2 separate regions of the Homo sapiens genome follow, and region 1 is linked to region 2. Evidence: promoter capture Hi-C in 16 types of primary human blood cells and fetal thymus (Javierre and others, 2016). All regions are on one chromosome and are shown on one strand. The core of a region is centred on a gene start or on the middle of the fragment in contact, and the rest is flanking DNA. Distances in the headings are between cores, read along the strand shown. Region 1 has its middle 5.9 kb from the start of LINC02168. Region 2 holds the start of SNX20 (sorting nexin 20).

What was found. Contacts are between HindIII fragments. The CHiCAGO score rates a contact against its expected background, and 5 or more counts as called.
Region 1: a contact is called between a fragment that was not itself captured here and the fragment with the promoter of SNX20 in region 2, in 2 of 17 cell types (neutrophils and activated CD4 T cells). The highest score is 6.3, in neutrophils.

Annotation. Positions count from the first base shown.
Region 1 is chr16:50,811,237-50,813,936 of GRCh38, reverse strand. No RefSeq gene overlaps it. Among named protein-coding and RNA genes, the nearest start is that of LINC02168, 5.9 kb to the right of the region's middle. The HindIII fragment of the contact is 5,044 bases long and covers 1-2,700 here.
Region 2 is chr16:50,679,994-50,682,693 of GRCh38, reverse strand. It overlaps SNX20 (sorting nexin 20), which reads left to right and starts at 1,382. Exons shown (of 4, transcript NM_182854.4): 1 at 1,382-1,504. The HindIII fragment of the contact is 15,976 bases long and covers 1-2,700 here.

The sequences.
Region 1 (2,700 bases), core at 51-2,550, 130 kb before region 2:
TTACCCAGCCCTTATTCAAGATGGAGCTGCTCTGGCTTAAACGCGTCTGGCACATACAGAGTTAAAAAAAAGAAAAGTTGCCAGATTTGTACAGATCAGGAACTTTTGCTTCTCTTAGAAATTTCTGACTTCGTCTGAAAAATCAGAACATAGGCCAGGTGCGGTGGCTTACGCCTGTAATCCCAGCACTTTGGGAGGCCGAGGCGGGTGGATCACGAGGTCGGGAGTTCAAGACAAGCCTGGCTAAGATGGCGAAACCCTGTCTCTATTAAAAATACAAAAAAATTAGCCAGGCATGGTGGCACTCACTGCTACGCAGGAGGCTGAGGCAGAGAACTGCTTGACCCCGGGAGGTGGAGGTTGCAGTGAGCTGAGATCGCACCACTGCACTCCAGCCTGGGCAGCAGAGCGAGACTCCGTCTCAAAAAAAAAAAAAAAAATCAGAATATACTGGCCTGCTTCTTCCTTTCCTTTACCATATCAGCTCTCCACCAACACTCCAACCTTCTCCCTTCCCTAAGGTACCTGCCTGGCCCCTGTAGGCAAGTGAGCTTGAGAGTCCCAGTCTAGGATCCTTCATTTTACAGATAGAGGGACTGCGGTTCATAGACAGACATCTTGCCAAGGATCATGGAGTGACCAGAGTCCAGTAGCTTGGGTATGACTGGTTTCACAGAGCACCCAGCTCGAACTGGTGGCCCCCAGCGAGGTGGATCGGCCCCTGAGTGGGCACTGTCCCTGCCTGGCTCTAGCCAAGGCCTGGAGGGAAGAGACTGCCCATAGTGAACCAAAGCTCAAGGCTCAAGGGCTCCTAGACAGTGGGGATGAAAATGAGCCAACACCATGCACTGGACGTTTGCCATTGAAAGCAACAGGCTGAACTGGGTAATTCTAGATGATCCAGATGTGGGTGAAGGAAATTCTTCTGTGGCATGCCAAGGAGAAAGGGACTGGAAAAGTCTTCCCGCCCAAAATAGCATGGTGCAAAAAGCACCCAGCTTGGAAATGCCCATGTGAAATGGCCGGTGGCCGCGCAGCTTCCTGAGAATCATTCAGTCTCCCGACAAATATGGGAGGAGGCCACAGTTGGTGCCCCCTGTTCTGGTTGCTGATGAGACAGGGACAATGTGGTTTTCACCCTCTGGGGGACCCACTGCCGAGCTGACAGATGAGTATAAAGCATTGCGCAAATGCAAGGACTCCTGGAGGGGGTGTGGGGACCGTGGGCACCTCGGGCTCACGTAGAAGGAGCTGAGACTTCGTCTCTACTCAGGCAAGTGCCTGGGAATATGGCTTTTGTATAGGGACAGGCTTGACTTCCTCCTGAGTGTGTCCACCTGAGGCAGGAGGTGGCAGGTTGGTGAGGAGGGAGAGGTGGGGATGGTGCAGGCCTAAGGCCTGGAAGAGCACTGGGGAGCCGCTGAGGGACAGGGTGGAATCAGGAGCTAGAGCCCTCTTGGCTGCAGAGTGTACGGCTGAGGCCACCAGCCCTGCCAGACTGTGGAATCCTCACAGTTCAGGAAGCCCAAGGAAGATTGGTGTTTGAGTCACTTAAGGAAGGCCTGGTGTGCATGGCAGGAAGAGGCTCCTCTCCACCCAGGAAAGCCTGCAGAGCTCGGACCAAGCGCCAGCCCCAGGCGCTGGGCCTCCCTAGTCAGAGCCTCGAGCTGCCCTACAATGTCCCAGGGTGAAATGGCCCCCCGTGAACACGGACTTCCCATGCTGGGGTTCTGTTCCAGCTCTGCCTCTAACTCTGCCCGTGGGTGCAGCCCTGCCTCCCTAGGCAGCAGCCTTTAAAGTTGGAGAACTTTAGAAAATTCTCCAACTTTAAAAAGAAAGATTGAGCTGGGACTGGGAGGCTGAGATGGGAGGGTTGCTTGAGCCCAGGTTTTCCAGCCTGGGCAACATAGTGAGACAGACCCTCTTGCTAATGAATTAAAGAAAGAAAAAGAGAGAGAGAGAAAGAGAGGGAGAAGGGGTGGACCCATCTCAATGGCTCCAGTGACTGAGGTCCTTGATGCTAATGGTAGTCCAGACTAGCTTTCTACTTTCTACACTGCTTTCTGGGCTGACTTTCAGTCTTTTTCTCGACCCTGTGCTGAGCCTGGGTTTTATCAAAAAAAGGAGAAAACACACAGGCACATGCACCTTGAGCTGGAGGTGACTACTCCAAGTCACTGAACTTCAACACTACAGAAAGTTTGTCAGATCCCAGAGTGGTGGCTCATGCCTGTAATAGAGCTTCCGGATGCCCAGGCAGGAGGATCACTTGAGGTCAGGAATTCAAGACCAGCCTGGGCAACATAACAAGATCACCTTCTCTACGAAAAATTTTTAAAATTGGCTGGGCATGGTGGTGCATGCCTGTAGTCCCAGATACTTGGGAGGCTGAGGCAGGAGGATCGCTTGAGCCCAGGAGTTCGAGACTAGCTTGGGCAACATAGTGAGATCCTGGTCTCATAAAAAATAAATTCATGAATGTGTCAAAACTCATCTAACTGCTTACTTAAAATATGTGTATGTTACTGTATGTAAATTACACCTCAGTGGAGTTGGTTAAAAAATAATAATGAAAGAAGGAAGGAGTGTAAACTTTGGAAAAGTCTGCAGCTGTCTCTCCTAAAGCTAAAATCCACCAATTCAAGAAGGATCACAGTAGGGTCATGTGTAGTAGCCCCAAACTGTCAGCAATGCCCCTTT
Region 2 (2,700 bases), core at 133-2,632:
TGGAAAATATTTGGCGTAATCTAGCACAGTTGAAGCTATCTATACTCTGAGACCCAGCAATTTCACCTCAGATAAGTACATGGACTTGGATAAATGTGTAAGAATATCATCAGTGGCATTGATCATGATGGCCACCCTAGGAACAACCCAAGTGTGCATCAAAAGACAAAACAAAAAATGACAAATGGTGATGTATTTAAATAATGAAGCAACAGAAAACCAAACACAGCATGTTCTCACTCATAAGTGGGAGTTGAACAGTGAGAACACATGGACACAGGGAGGGGAACATCACACGCTGGGGCCTGTCAGGGGTGGGGGCCAGGGGGAAGGAGAGCATTAAGACAAATACCTAATGCATGCAGGGCTTAAAACCTAGATGATGGGTTGATAGGTACAGCAAACCACCACGGCACATATATACCTATGTAACAAACCTGCAGGTTCTACACTGGTATCCCAGAACTTAAAGTAAAATAAATAATAATAATAATGTAGCAACACAACAATGGAAATGAAAAAAAGTATCTACACAGAAATGCATCAGTGAATCTTATACCCATAAATGTTGCATGAAAGAAGCAAGGCACTGGAGAATACACACAGTATGCATGGTTCAATTTATATAAGATTCACAGATGAGTAAAATGAAACTGAATTGTTTGGGGATCTCATAGGTGGTAAATTTCTAAGGAAAAGCCAAGAAGTAACCCCCATCTGAATCAGGACTGTGACTGCCTCTAATAGGGAGGAAGGGAATCATGGCTCAAAAAAAAACACATGGCAAACTTCTGGGCGAGCCAGCAAAGTTCTATTTTTTTTTTTTTTGTCTGATTTCTGTTTCTTGCCTTCAAGGCCACAAAGATGGGTGGGCATGAATCACACCACACTGCCCTGGGGTTTCGCTTCCCTGGGACTTTCTGTTGGTGGTGATGGATACAGCTTTGCTCAGAGAAAAGGCACCAGATGGAACTGTAATTCTACCCCACTGCTCTTCTATGTCAGTCACTGGCTCTGTGTCCCACCAGCTCTGTGATCCAAGCCTCGGTTTTCCCATCTGTTCAAGGGGCATGACGGCCCCCATCATGCCTAGCTCATAGAGTAGAATAATGAATGTTAAAGGGCTCTGGGAGCTAATGCCTGAATTCCAGAGATCAACGGGGACTCGAAGGACAGCCAGACCTCTGCAAGGCGGCAGGGAAAGTGAGGCTGAGCTAAATCCCACAGGGCTGGCCCCACACCGCCTTGCCCTTCCCTGCGCTACCCGGAAGAAGAGGTGGGTACAGCTGGCAGGCTGGCAGTTGAGTTCAATATACCATGTTTCACCAGCCAATGGGCTGGGGCGATCAGAAGCAGGTCACACAGCCTGTTTCCTGTTTTCAAACGGGGAACTTAGAAAGTGGCAGCCCCTCGGCTTGTCGCCGGAGCTGAGAACCAAGAGCTCGAAGGGGCCATATGACACTCCTCCCGGACCCCTGGACACACACAGCCCTGGAGACTGGAGGTCAGTATTTGATCCCAAGCTCAGCTGTCCTCTGCCTGCTGTGGCCTGAGTCCCCTTCTCCTGGGGCCCTGCCTGGCACCTGCTGGGGGCAGGGTGGGAGGGGGAAGAGTTAGTGACAGCCACTGTGTCTGGAGCTCTCCTTAGCACACTGAGGCAGAGGAAGGGACAGCTCCTGGACCTTCCATCACCTCCATTCCTTTTGAAATGCTAGGCGCTTGTACAACCCATCTTGGGCCTGGAGAATAAGTCACCACACCTGTGTTTCTCAAAAGAACAGTGTCAGGGAACCCCTGCCTCAGCACAGCCTTAGAGGACTCATGGAAAATGCAGAATCCAGGCCTGTTCAATGGCACCTTCCTATGTTAGCAGCCAGGAAACCTGCTCTTGGACAAGCCCCTGGGATCCCACCCCCACCCCACCAGGGGATTCTTACACACACTGGGTTGGGAGCCCCTGGCTTTGGCAAGGCTTCTCAGGTGAGCGTCCAGTTGTTGGAGGGTACCCACCCTTTCCCCAAGAGAGGCAGCCACACATCCAACATCCTGGGATCTCTGTCTCCCAGCGTGGGCCATGTGCTTTATTTCACCCCCTAGAGGCTCATCCCCCATGAAAAGTCCTCCGCAGGCCCTCAGAAAGATAGTGTGGCCTCTGTGTGCCCAGCAGAAGAAGGACTGGACTTGGCAGTCAGCTCTTGGAGAGGGGGTGGTTAGGACACCTGGGGACAGGAGGAGGAGAATGACTGTCTGTGCACACACGGCTGGAAGGCAGAGGAGGCTGGGAAGCTGCTCTGTCCCCTGGGCCAACTACAGGCCCCCAGGCCAACAGCAACAACACTTTTAGTATTTTGTTATAAAGTCAAGAAATCTTTGCTACAGAGGGTGAGGAGAGGGAAGGAAAGGGCCATGGAACCGTCTATGTGGCTATCCCCAGAGAGCTTTTAGAGTGACAGGATTGCTTTCCCATTTCACAGATGAGGAAACTGAGGCCTGGAGAGGGATGGGAAGCTACCCAAGGCCCCATGGATACACCAGTGCACAACTCTTTCCTTCCCCCTCCTCTTTAAATGGGTGACTCCCAATGAAACCTGTAAGAGACAACCATAAGGGAGCTGACTGTGGCTGCTGAATTTGATTTTATTCTAAGGCCTGGTTTTATAATCAGCTTTCTCAGTCTTTACTGGAGTGTCAAGCCGAGGC